Regions from separate parts of the Homo sapiens genome. Here regions 2 and 3 are each linked to region 1. Evidence: promoter capture Hi-C in 16 types of primary human blood cells and fetal thymus (Javierre and others, 2016). All regions are on one chromosome and are shown on one strand. Each heading gives the region's core, a stretch centred on a gene start or on the middle of the fragment in contact. The rest is flanking DNA. Distances are from core to core; before and after follow the strand shown.

Region 1 (3,782 bases), core at 478-2,977:
TTTTTTTAGATGAAAAGCCCCATCCAACAGTGGCTGATAACATTTTCTGTTCTCTGATAACCCCCTTGCTACTAGAGCAGCTGAAGATGACTCCAAATGCATGAATCTGTTCATCTGTTCACATGCTAAAAGAAAAAGGCCTGGCAGTTCATGATTAAAGAGGCACGAAAGTCCCCAGATCACAAATGCCCTTTCAAAAATTTTCCACATTTGTTCTAGTTTCAAGCCATGATAAAGAGTTTCCAATCAAATGCATCAGCTAAAATGAATCCATTTTCTGAAACAGAAGTGGCTAGTTTGGGTCCAGCACTTATAACGAAAGGTTCCTGGTGTCACAGACCATGAAATAAGACTGTTTGAAGTTGTTCCCATGGAGAATCCCAGAGGACTTTAAAACTTCTGAGCAGGAAGATCCTTGACCCTTGCCCAACTCCTTTCCACTTAACAGCGATGCAACTGAGCTGAAGAGACTTGTCCAAAGCCACTGAGCAGGTTAGTTAGTGGCAGGGCTAAAATCTGTAATGAGGGGTTGGTCATGCGCAGGTTGCAAACAGCCTTGTCCAAGGATTCACACTTGGAGTAGATACATTGCACCCTCACTTTTGACTAGGCCTAACTTCTGGTACAAACCTGTGGAGTCAAAATCTGATTTTAAATATTGTAAAAAACAAAAACAAACAACCTCTCATTTTTCAGATCTCTCAATGAAAACTTTAGGGCCAAATCAAGAAATCATAAGGCTATCATAGGCCCTTACATAAAAATGGCCTTAAAATATACACACAACCTCCTTTTCATAGAAGACAGAGAGCCAGAGAGATAGAAATACAGAAAGAGAGGGAGAAAGAATACTTTGCCCCTGACATATACACACAAAAGTACTTGGCTTACTGTAAGCAAAAAGCAAAAAAAAAAAAAAAAAAAAACAAAACAAAAACCCTCAAACTCCTTTGTCTTAAGGGCAGAGAGAAAGGTGACAAAATTTGAAATAAAGTGAGCCACTGAAGACAGGAATGGGCAAACTCCAGCTAGCCTGGAACTATCCCGGTTTCCTCTGTGAACCAGCCTAGGGGCTTCCCCTCGGTCCGCCCCTGCACGGAAGGACGTGCGTGACACTGGGCTGCGTCATTGGCAGAACTGCCCGCGCCCAGAAAACGAGCTGGAGTGGAGAACAGAATGCAATTGCAGACAATCTTCCTCTGGTTCCCTGGGGAGGCCTGCTCTGGGCAGAGAGATCCCAGGGGACTGTGCGGGAAGGAGCTAAAGCAATAGCCCAAAAGCGCCAGGGAATGCACTTGAAGTTTCAGACGTTTTTCTTTTCTTTGAAACTAAGTTTCCAGCCCACCAGGAAAAACTGCCTCGCGACCTAGTGATTTTAATCTCACGCTTGGCCGCAAGCCGCTGCCTCGAGACTGGAAACCGGCCGCGAGGCGCTCTATCCCCCTGACCCCCTCCCCCCGCGCTCACCTGCGATATCCCAGAGCTGCAGGCGCACCACAGTCTCCGGGTCCCAGTGGAGCACCTTGAGCGCGAAGTCCACGCCGATTGTGGCCCGGTAGTGCGAAGAGAAGTTCTGGTGCACGTAGCGCTTGATGATACTGGTCTTCCCCACGCCCAGGTCGCCAATCACCAGCAACTTGTACAGGTGCTCCTTGTGCGGGGCCTGCATCCTGGCGGCCGGCCAGACGTGCCGTGCCTGACCAGGGAAGCGCAGCCTGGGCTCTGCGCACGAGAGAGACTTGGGGAGCGCAAGTGTAGGTGCAGAGAGAGGCGTGGGCGGCGGGGCGGGGGCTGGGGGGCGGAACTCCTCCCCTAGGGGTTAATCCTCCTTCCTACTCCGCGGTCTTGGAGAGGGGAGGAGACAGGAGCGAGTCCCGGGACTGGCAGCTGAAAGGGGTTCGCGTGTGGTTGCCTGTTGCAGCGCTTATTTATCCGGCGCTTTAGAGTTTCCGAAGAGCTGTTTTCACCTGTGACCCTGGCCACAAACTTGTGAGGTGTGGATCTTATTTTCCACGTTTTGCTTGCGAGAAAACTGATTGTGAAAAAGTACTCTGCGGGAGATGGCCGGTGAAAGGCCCCGTTGACCACAGGTCTGAAGTCACAGGCTCTTAACTACCCCACACTGTAGAGAGAAATTACAGTATTAGGAAGCCCAAGACTGGCTGGGCTTGGTTCCTGCGTGCCCTGGTTTTTAAGTTGAGGGACCATAAGTAAGTCATTTGAGCTCTCACAGCCTGTTATTTCTCAATGAATGGCAATGCTGACCTCTGAGCAGCTTGGAGGTGGGAACACTGAGCACTTTCACACCCATTCAACTGGTAATCAGTTAACAAGGAGGACAACTGGGCCGAAAATGCCAAGGGCACTGGTGACTTTTAGCCTCTTCCCATATCCTAAAAACTCAGAGCTGCACAGAAAGACAGTTTTAACAATCGGTCAGATTATTACAAATAATAATAATGGCAAACATTTATTGAGCACTCGCTATATGCCAGAGGGTTTATAAATTATGTCATTTAGTCATCCCAGCTGTCTTAATAATAGATACCATTTTTCTTCCTATTTTACAAATGAGGAAGCTAAGGACCAGACATTTTAAGTAATGGACCCAGAGTCAAATAGTAAGGAAAAAAACCAAATTCAAACATAGGTCTTTAGGTTCCCAACTTCTTTTTGTTGTTTTTGTTGTTTGTTTTCATTCATTTGACCAATATACATTTTATTACCAATTAATATATGACAAATTGTACTTATTTTGTCTTGTCTGTCTCCACCTACAAGAAGGTAAATTTTTTTGAGGCCAGTAGGCATTGTCTGCGTTAGGATTTCTGTATCATCCTCCTAACGCAGACAATGCCTACTGGCCTAAGAAAAATTTACCTTCTTGTGGGTGGAGACAGGACAAGACAAAATAAATACAATTTGTCATATATTAATTGGTAATAAAATAAGGCAGAAAGGGGATGTGAAGAGATTATATGGGGTTTGCCTTTTAGATAGGGTGGCCAGGGAAGGTTTCAGTAAGATGGAGACAATTTAGTAAAGACATAAAGAAAATGAGAAATTGGGCATTCAGGGCTAGGGGGTGAGCAGTTTATACCAAAATGAGCTATTTTGTACCTGAATGTGCTGTGAAGGAGCTCTGCTCACATTCTATCATTTCATCTTCTCAATTGCTTTATGAAGTGGGTTATTTTCTTCAATTTATAAATAAGGAAACCAAGATTAACAGCAGCTTTCTCAAGGGCACACATAACTAGTATGTGTTAGAACTAGGACTTAAACACAGGCCTGTGTGAAAGGGAGAAAGGAGGTTTGGCAAGGCCATTGTCTTTCTGCCTTCCTCTTCTGGCCTGACACTCCCTAAACTTTAGCCTCCACATGCCCCAAACAAGCAGAGGGATGCTGAAGATGTGTACCCGGGACAAGTCACATAACCTCTGAGCCTTGGTTTCCACATCAACGAAAGGAGAATGATAATACCTATGGCAGGGCATGGTTGCTCATGATTGTAATCCAAGCACTTTGGGAGGCTGAGGTGGGTGAATCACTTGAGGTCAGGAGTTCAAGACCAGCCTGGCCAACATGGTGAAACCCGTCTCTACTAAAAATACAAAAATTAGCCGGGCGTGGTGGCAGGTGACTATAATCCCAGCTACTTGAGAGGCTGAGACAGGAGACTATCTTGAACCAGGGATGCAGAGGTTGCAGTGAGCCAAGATCACACCATTGCTCTCCAGCCTGGGTAACCTGAGCAAGACTCTATCTCTAAATAAATAAAT
Region 2 (3,782 bases), core at 656-3,155, 350 kb after region 1:
CATCAGTAGAGAATAACCACCTGTAGAGCTTGCAGGGGCCCAGAGCTCTTAAGGTTTTATTACCTTTTCCCTAATTAAACTGGAGCCTGGTATAACACCACTTCATCCACCTTCCTGGTATCCAGTAGGCTATGATAAAGGGAGTTACTATAATAAGACTTGTTTATCTCAGTACAGTCACACTCTTTTTAGTTTATTTTCCTGCTGTTTCAAAAGTAGTATAAAATAAAATAAAATGCAACAAAGTCAACATCATTATTGATCCTGGGGCAGAGGCCTTCCTCTTAATTTTTTTTCCCTTCTAAAATGTTTAAAGTATCTAGTATTTGAAGAAAAATGGCTTATTACATCAAGCAAAATGAATTTAATGGATTACCTATTTAACGGACATTAGTTGAGCATTTATTAAATCCTAGGTAATGGACTTTGCACTACAGATGTAAAGATAAGTAATCTGCAGGCCCCACCTGTTAGAATTTACCTAACAGTAGGAGAAGGAAGGAAATAAGAAATACGTACACAAGTAATTTTAGATGTAGGCATAAAGAAGAGAGGAAAAGAACTTAGAGACTTTGTTAAAGGAGGTAAATCATCAGACCAAGCTAGATTGAGTAGACTTAATTTTACCAAGAAAATACCTTAGAAGTACCAATGGCCAAATGATGCTCAATGTTTCAATGCAAAGTATTTTGTGCTTCTTTGTGAATTGGATTGCTCAAGCAAAATACTGCTCGACAGCTCAAATTAAAAGAATATTGATAGAATAATAAATTATTGGTGGTCATTCACTTCCTTACAAAGGGATCCTTAACATATTTTTGAATATCTTCTGTTAGGCTAATTGTGAATTAATCATTAAATATTTCATAGATGAGTTAAGAAACCTACAGTCTTCATGCTTATAAGCTCTTCTCTTTCTTTCTTTCTCTCATGACCACACACACTCTGCCAGGTGACCTCTGTTTATGAAATATGGAATAGATCCTAAGCATCTTATTCTATCAAACTCTAACCTCTGTGAAGAAAAAGGAATGCTTACACACTGCTAGTGGGAATGGAAATTAGTTCAGCCACTGTGGAAATCAGCTTGGCAATTTCTCAAAGAACTTAAAGCAGAACTACCATTTGACCCAGAAATCCCATTACTGGTCATATACCTAAAGGAATATAAATCTCTCTATCATAAAAACACATCCATGTATATGTTCACTGCAGCACTATTCACTATAACAAAGTCATGGAATCAACCTAAATGCCCATCAACGGTAAAATGGATAAAGAAAATGTGGTACATATACATCATAGAATACTATGCAGTCATAAAAAGAATGAGATCATGTCCTTTACACATGAATAGCACAGGAGGGCATTATCCTAACCAAACTAATGGAGAAACAGAAAACCAAGTACTTCATGTTTTCATTTATCAATGGGAGCTTAACACTGAGTACGCATGGACACAAAGGGAAAAATAGACACTGGGGCCTCCATGAGGGTGGAGGGTGGGAGGAGAGTGAGGATCAAAAAACTACCTACCAGATTCTATACTTATTACCTGGGTGATGAAATAATCTGCATATTATACCCCTGCAAAACACAACTTACCTATAAAACAAACCTGCACATATACCCCTGAACCTAAAAGTTTAGAAAAACCATAGAAACAAAACAAAAAACAAAAACAAAACCTAACTGCTTTTGGTAAAAGCTTTCACTGACATATAAAAAACAAAATAATGAAAATTCAAAACAATAATAACAAAACTCATTTTAAAAATGTGAGCAATATCTTAGACTTTTTGGAACTTTCAAGCAGTTTTTGTATTCAATGCAAGCTGAAAATGGCATTAATACAGAATGGGAAACTCATCATTGCTTTCAGATAGGACCCTACTTGCCTGTCTGTACCTGTAATTATATTCACCAGATATTTAAATAGATCATATTTTTATTCATTCACTTACTCATTATCCCATTTACCAGTAATGTGCTGTTCAAAATTACTAATAGATTTAATAGTCTCAACTGTTGAGTTTAAAAACTCAACATTTTTTTCCAGTTGAGTTTATTTTAGAAATATGGAATTGTCAATTAAAAATAGTTTAAGCTTTTCAGAATTTACAGATCATGGAATATCAATTTTAAAATTTCATTTCTTTTACATAATAAATTTATATATCAGATACTAAAACACCCATACACTCATACTTGTAAGGCACTGTTTCAAGTGCTTTGCAAGTATTAACTCACTTTTCAAATGAAATGTTTAATTTACTATATTTATATTCAAAGTTATAATAAAAAGTAATAATGACAAAATATTGAGCATGCCAGGCTGTTTGCTGTACACTATTGTAAATTATTAAAACAGCCATACAAAGCAGCTGCTATTATTCTCATTCTGAAGAGGCAGACACTGAAGATCAGTGTCAGTAAGCCCAACCTCATGTGGTTTATGAGCAGGGAGCCCAAGGTTAAAAATCAGGTTTCTCTGATTCTAAAGCTCATGCTATTTCCATTAATTTTTCCTCCAAGTAACAATATTACTACGTTTAAAAACAAAATTACAAAAGCTTATTATTTACCTTTTCTCTTCTTGACCCCGTTTTGCAAATAAGTAGCAGAGTTATCAAGTACAGGCAGTAGAGAATCTAGTGATAGGACTTTAAATTTTGTTACTTCCTTTAGGTCCCTATGCCTGTACCAGGCAGGTTTAGTTGACATCATTCAAAACCGTTTACTGAATAGTCCATGTGCTGGGCACTGTGATAAGGAGCATATGGGTGATTATGTCATTGATAAGGTCACAGTCTTGAATGAGAAGATGAAATGTAAACAGATAATTTCCAAACAATGTAAGAAGTTTTATTATAGAAACAAATACAAGAAGGGTTACTTAACCCATACTAGATTGGCAGAGAACACTTTAGTGAGATATGATACGTAAGACAAATCTGAAAAATTGAGCAGACATGCACCGTGAAGAGAAAATCAGGTGCAAACATGTAGAGAGGTTTAGCAGCATGGTGTATACTGGGAAACACTGTTTAGTAATTTTTATTGTAAGAAGTATAAAATAGGAGGTCAAAGGGGAAAGCAGATGGAGAAGTATATAAAAATGATGAATTTGCTTGTTGATTATGAGATGTCATTGTGGAATCCTTATGCTACATAAAACAGGATCAGAGTTGACATTTAGATAAAATGCAATGGACTTGAAGGAACAAAACTAGAGAGATAGAGAAATACTACTACAGTTATGCATGTGAGAGATGATAAGCTAATGCTTAGGGTAGCGATAATACAGATGAAAAATAGAGCACAGTCTCAAGACTATTTGGGAGGCAAAAATGAGTAGGATTTATTGGATGATGAGTATAATAGGAAGAAGTATAGAATGATACCCCAGTTACTGTGTTGGATGGTGCAGTTAACTGAGTTAAGAAAATTCAAGAGAAGGAGTATATTTGGGCAAGGAAGTAAAAAGCTTCATTTTGGAATATTTGATTTGAGATGCTGGTGGGACATCCAAGTGGACATATTCAGCAGACACATGAGTATAAACATTTGGAGGTTAGAGGATTGTTATACACAGGGGAGCTCTCAGCATACCGATGGTTGCAAATACAATGAGAATGGTTGAAAATATTCAGAACAGGAAAACTATGTAGACAGTGGAAAGAAGAGGTGAATAGCCATGCTCATTCTACCTGTCCAAAAACTTTTATAACACTGTTAGTGTAAGCATTCCCTTAAAACATTTACTGGAAAAAAAATCTGCT
Region 3 (3,782 bases), core at 714-3,213, 300 kb after region 1:
CTCTGGTCCTAAAGGGTCTTAGTGACTGCATTGTGTTGCCTTCTGCTGCCTGCCCATTGTAGTACTACCAACATGATTCAGCTTTGTTAATAGCCCAGATGGTCTTTCCTGCATCTAGTAACTCTCCTTTTCCAAACCATCAAAAAGGGAAAAGGGGGTAAAGGGAGGGAAGGGAAGCACACACACAAAAAATTATCTTGTTCTTATTATTTTATCTTCCTCCCGCTTAAAACCTTCAGACACTCTCATTACCTACCCCTTTCCTTCCTCCGCTCAAAATTCTCCCAATATATGCCTTTCCTTTATAATATGATCCCGACCAGCTATTGTCACTTTCCTTCAAGTAGCTCCTTTGATCAGTCTCATCTGATAAAGTGCTCTGTCCTGCCTCAGTACCTTGTATCAGTGCTGTTCCCTGCTTTGGAATGCCTTTTCTATGTCATACCACATATTCAGTGCTACTGGTTCCTCAAAATCAAGTTCCTCTTTTAAAGCTCTCCTCCACAAACATATTTTGAGTTTTAAATTAAGTAATCTCTTGCTCTCTCTTCTTGTGCTATCACAGCACCTCATTTATAGTACTGTATGTAAATAATTCTAGGGTATAGGGAAGATGGAGCCCATGAAAATGGAAAGAACAATTCCATTTAGGATATAGAATACTCCTCTATGGAATGCCGGTGTTAAGTAAACCACCTACTTCAGTCACCTTTTTTACAAGTAAGGAACTTAAGATCTTATGAGAGAAAGGGACTTGTTATGTATTGACAGAAACTGCTGTCTCTGATTCCAGGATATTTAATCAATACTATCCGTCTGCCTTATCATCCATAAAATAAAATGCTAAGCAGCCACTAAACATGATGATGGAAACCTTGGAAAAAATATCTATGGAAATGTTCAAAGAAGAAGATTAATAAAATGTTCATTGTATTTGATTTTATTTATGTAAGATTATGTATGCATATGCACAGATGTGTGTGAGGTGTGCATGAGAGAGGAAAAAAAGAAATAGAGACAGAGAAGAGATATCTGTGAAAGAATGTTCATCTAAGTTCTAACAACGTTCACGTATGCGTAATGACATTTTTTTCTACATCATTTTTGGCATCATTTAAAATATTTATTGAAAGAATACATTATGTTTATGATTAGAACAAAACACAAAATGGCTGAATTAATATTTGGAAAAGGATAGGAAATTACTTCCTTCATATATTTACTTGGGAGATGCAACACAGATTGTATTAGAGGATCTCTGTCATTTTTTTAAAAATGTCCATTTTGATGGTATTTTCAGAAAGGACTTTTTAACCAGGTAGTAAGGACAGAACTGACTACATTCTCTATTCCTTTCAAATTCAACCTTAGGTAAATTAACAAAGTTGCTGTAGTTCTACTCCTATTAAAAAGAAAGAACACAATTTCCAAATAAAACATCTGTACTTTTTTTCCCTGAGGTATTTCATGATCATATTACCCAAGAAGATTGAAAGTTTCCTGTGTGTTTCCTTTAACAATCTGTGTGACATGTTTATAAGCAATTTAAAAGCATGGCCAAAAGGGACATGGATGGACTGAAGGATCACACTTTAAATAAATTCCATTTAAAGATCACGTTATACCTATGCAGTCTTCCCAGAACCAGGCACACTGTAACTTTTAACAGCATTCCTGATTGACTCACTGAGAATATTTCACTAAATCTCTGACTGTTCCTCATAACAAGGACATGAGGATTCTGTTTAAACAAAAATGTTTTAACATTCTGGGAGCAACAGATTTTTTTTTCATAGGCATGTTCTTTGATTGTTTGTCCTGGTTCCCATCAGTTGGTACACTTACTTCTGCCTAGTTTCAGCATCTGTCCTGCCCACTTAAGAGCCCATGCCAATGTGCTAATCATAACTCCATGTAGTTTTAATTTGGGCAGCATCTGTTATTTCACATTGCTGAGGCAGTGCCATGTGGTGCCAAGAGTATGGGCCTTGGAGCCAGACAAACTTGGGCTTGTGCCTTGGTCTTACCCATTACCAAGTGACCTTAGATAATATGCTTAACTTATTTGAACCCCAATTTCCTCATGTGAGAAAGAGAGTAATACTAAATCCTGGTCATTGTGAGGAATTAGGAAATCAGTGTATGTGTTTGTAGAGTGTTTAGCAGTGATTGGCATATTGTAGGTTCTCTACAATGTGTAGCTATTAAGAATCTAATTAAAACCTCTTCACTTCTCTCCTAAGTGATACCATGATGCTTTTTCTCTATGATAATTGTGATGTGAAAACTGTTAGGTGGTTCATGGTCTTTTCTATAGCAATATGCGTCATTTGGACTTTAAAATATTTTATTTTACAAAGTACCTCTGAATATAGTATGTTACCACAACAATCCCATGAGATGTATAGGTATACATACATATATATACACATATACACAAGAGCACACACACACACATATAATATCCTCATTTAACTAATGAGACCATTGAGGCTAAAATGGTTAAGCCTTAAAGTACTTTAGGTAGGAAGAGGGGAGGTTAGTAATAGAATCCAGGTGTTCAGAAATGAGGAACAATTGTCTGTATAACACATCCATGTAGCCCCCCAGCTTTTGACTGCTAGTTTACAGCGATGGCTGCAAGTCTTGCTTCAGGTTGGTCATAGAAACACAACTACCTATTCAATTTAAAATATAAAAAAACTTGAGTTCTTACTGTTTGTCAGGCATACTGCTGGATATTTGTACAAATATCACATCATGTAATCTGGGTAGCAACTCTCTGGAGTAGGTATCATCTCTATTTTACAGATAAGGTCAGTTGACTTGTCTGTGGTTGCACCCCCACTAAGGGTTGGATGCAAAAATGTTTGAAAAATATTGGATCAAATGGCCTATAAATCCTAACGAGTTATATACTTTTAGGCTTCTTTTCCCCAAAGACATTGCTTATGTGGAATTCTAACTTTTAGAAGTGAGTCATTTTCATAATTTCTGAGATCAACTAAGCAAATCAAGAGAGCACAAAACTAAACAGCAATAAGAGTGATCAATCTACAAGTGCTCCAACCATATGGATGAATTTCCCAAACATAATGTTGAGTGACAGAAGCCAGATACAAATAGTATAAATTGTATTCCATTTATAGAGAGCATAGAAAAAGACACATCCCATATAGGATGTTAGAAGTAAGGAGAGTGGTTAGTCTTTGGGAGAGGCGGAGGCAGAGGCAGAAAGGAAGCAGAAGGGGCCCTTCTGTGTGTTGGTTTCATCTGTGTTCAGCTTACACTTCTGGTATGTACTCTTTTCTGTATTTATTATATTTAATAGAAAGTTGTTAGAAAACTATGTGCTTGATGCTACATGAAATTAACACTAATTGGCTATTAACTTTTAAAAATATGGTTAGATATGTTTTAATTTGGGGCCTCCTTCGGGTTGGCCTTTCAAAGAGCACAAACCCAGGAAGTAGTAAGAATGACCTCTTTTGGAAGCCTGGGGATACTGGTAAGAAGAGAAGATTCTAAAACTTCTATAGGGAGTGTAAGCAAAAAGCATTTTTCTGCAGAGGCTGTGTGTTCAAAGAGTTTGCTGAGGAAGGAGTGTAGCAGTGCAGAGGAAAGTCAGCATGCAGTCAGCAACCACCAGCAGAGCCAGGTGAGAGAGCTGATCCTAATGATCCTGGGCACAGGCTAATAAAAGGTGGGCTAGTCATCTCTCAAAGACCCCACCTCTGAATATTATTTACTGGGGTTTCAACATGTGAATTTTGGTAACATAC

Evidence for each region. The method cuts DNA at HindIII sites, captures the fragments that hold promoters and counts their contacts. A CHiCAGO score of 5 or more calls a contact.
Region 2: a contact is called between a fragment that was not itself captured here and the fragment with the promoter of RAB38 in region 1, in 3 of 17 cell types (activated CD4 T cells, megakaryocytes and M0 macrophages). The highest score is 6.1, in activated CD4 T cells.
Region 3: a fragment that was not itself captured here is called in contact with the fragment with the promoter of RAB38 in region 1 in 1 of 17 cell types (total CD8 T cells); the score reaches 5.4 in total CD8 T cells.

Annotation. Positions count from the first base shown.
Region 1 is chr11:88,173,716-88,177,497 of GRCh38, forward strand. RAB38 (RAB38, member RAS oncogene family) reads right to left here and starts at 1,728. Exons shown (of 3, transcript NM_022337.3): 1 at 1,468-1,728. The coding sequence starts at 1,669. It overlaps MIR3166 (microRNA 3166), which reads left to right and starts at 2,787; the gene lies at 2,787-2,878. The HindIII fragment of the contact is 9,633 bases long and covers 1-3,782 here.
Region 2 is chr11:88,526,441-88,530,222 of GRCh38, forward strand. The region is part of intron 8 of GRM5 (glutamate metabotropic receptor 5); the gene reads right to left. Among named protein-coding and RNA genes, the nearest start is that of GRM5-AS1, 24 kb to the left of the region's middle. The HindIII fragment of the contact is 399 bases long and covers 1,707-2,105 here.
Region 3 is chr11:88,474,388-88,478,169 of GRCh38, forward strand. No RefSeq gene overlaps it. Among named protein-coding and RNA genes, the nearest start is that of GRM5-AS1, 28 kb to the right of the region's middle. The HindIII fragment of the contact is 4,294 bases long and covers 1-3,782 here.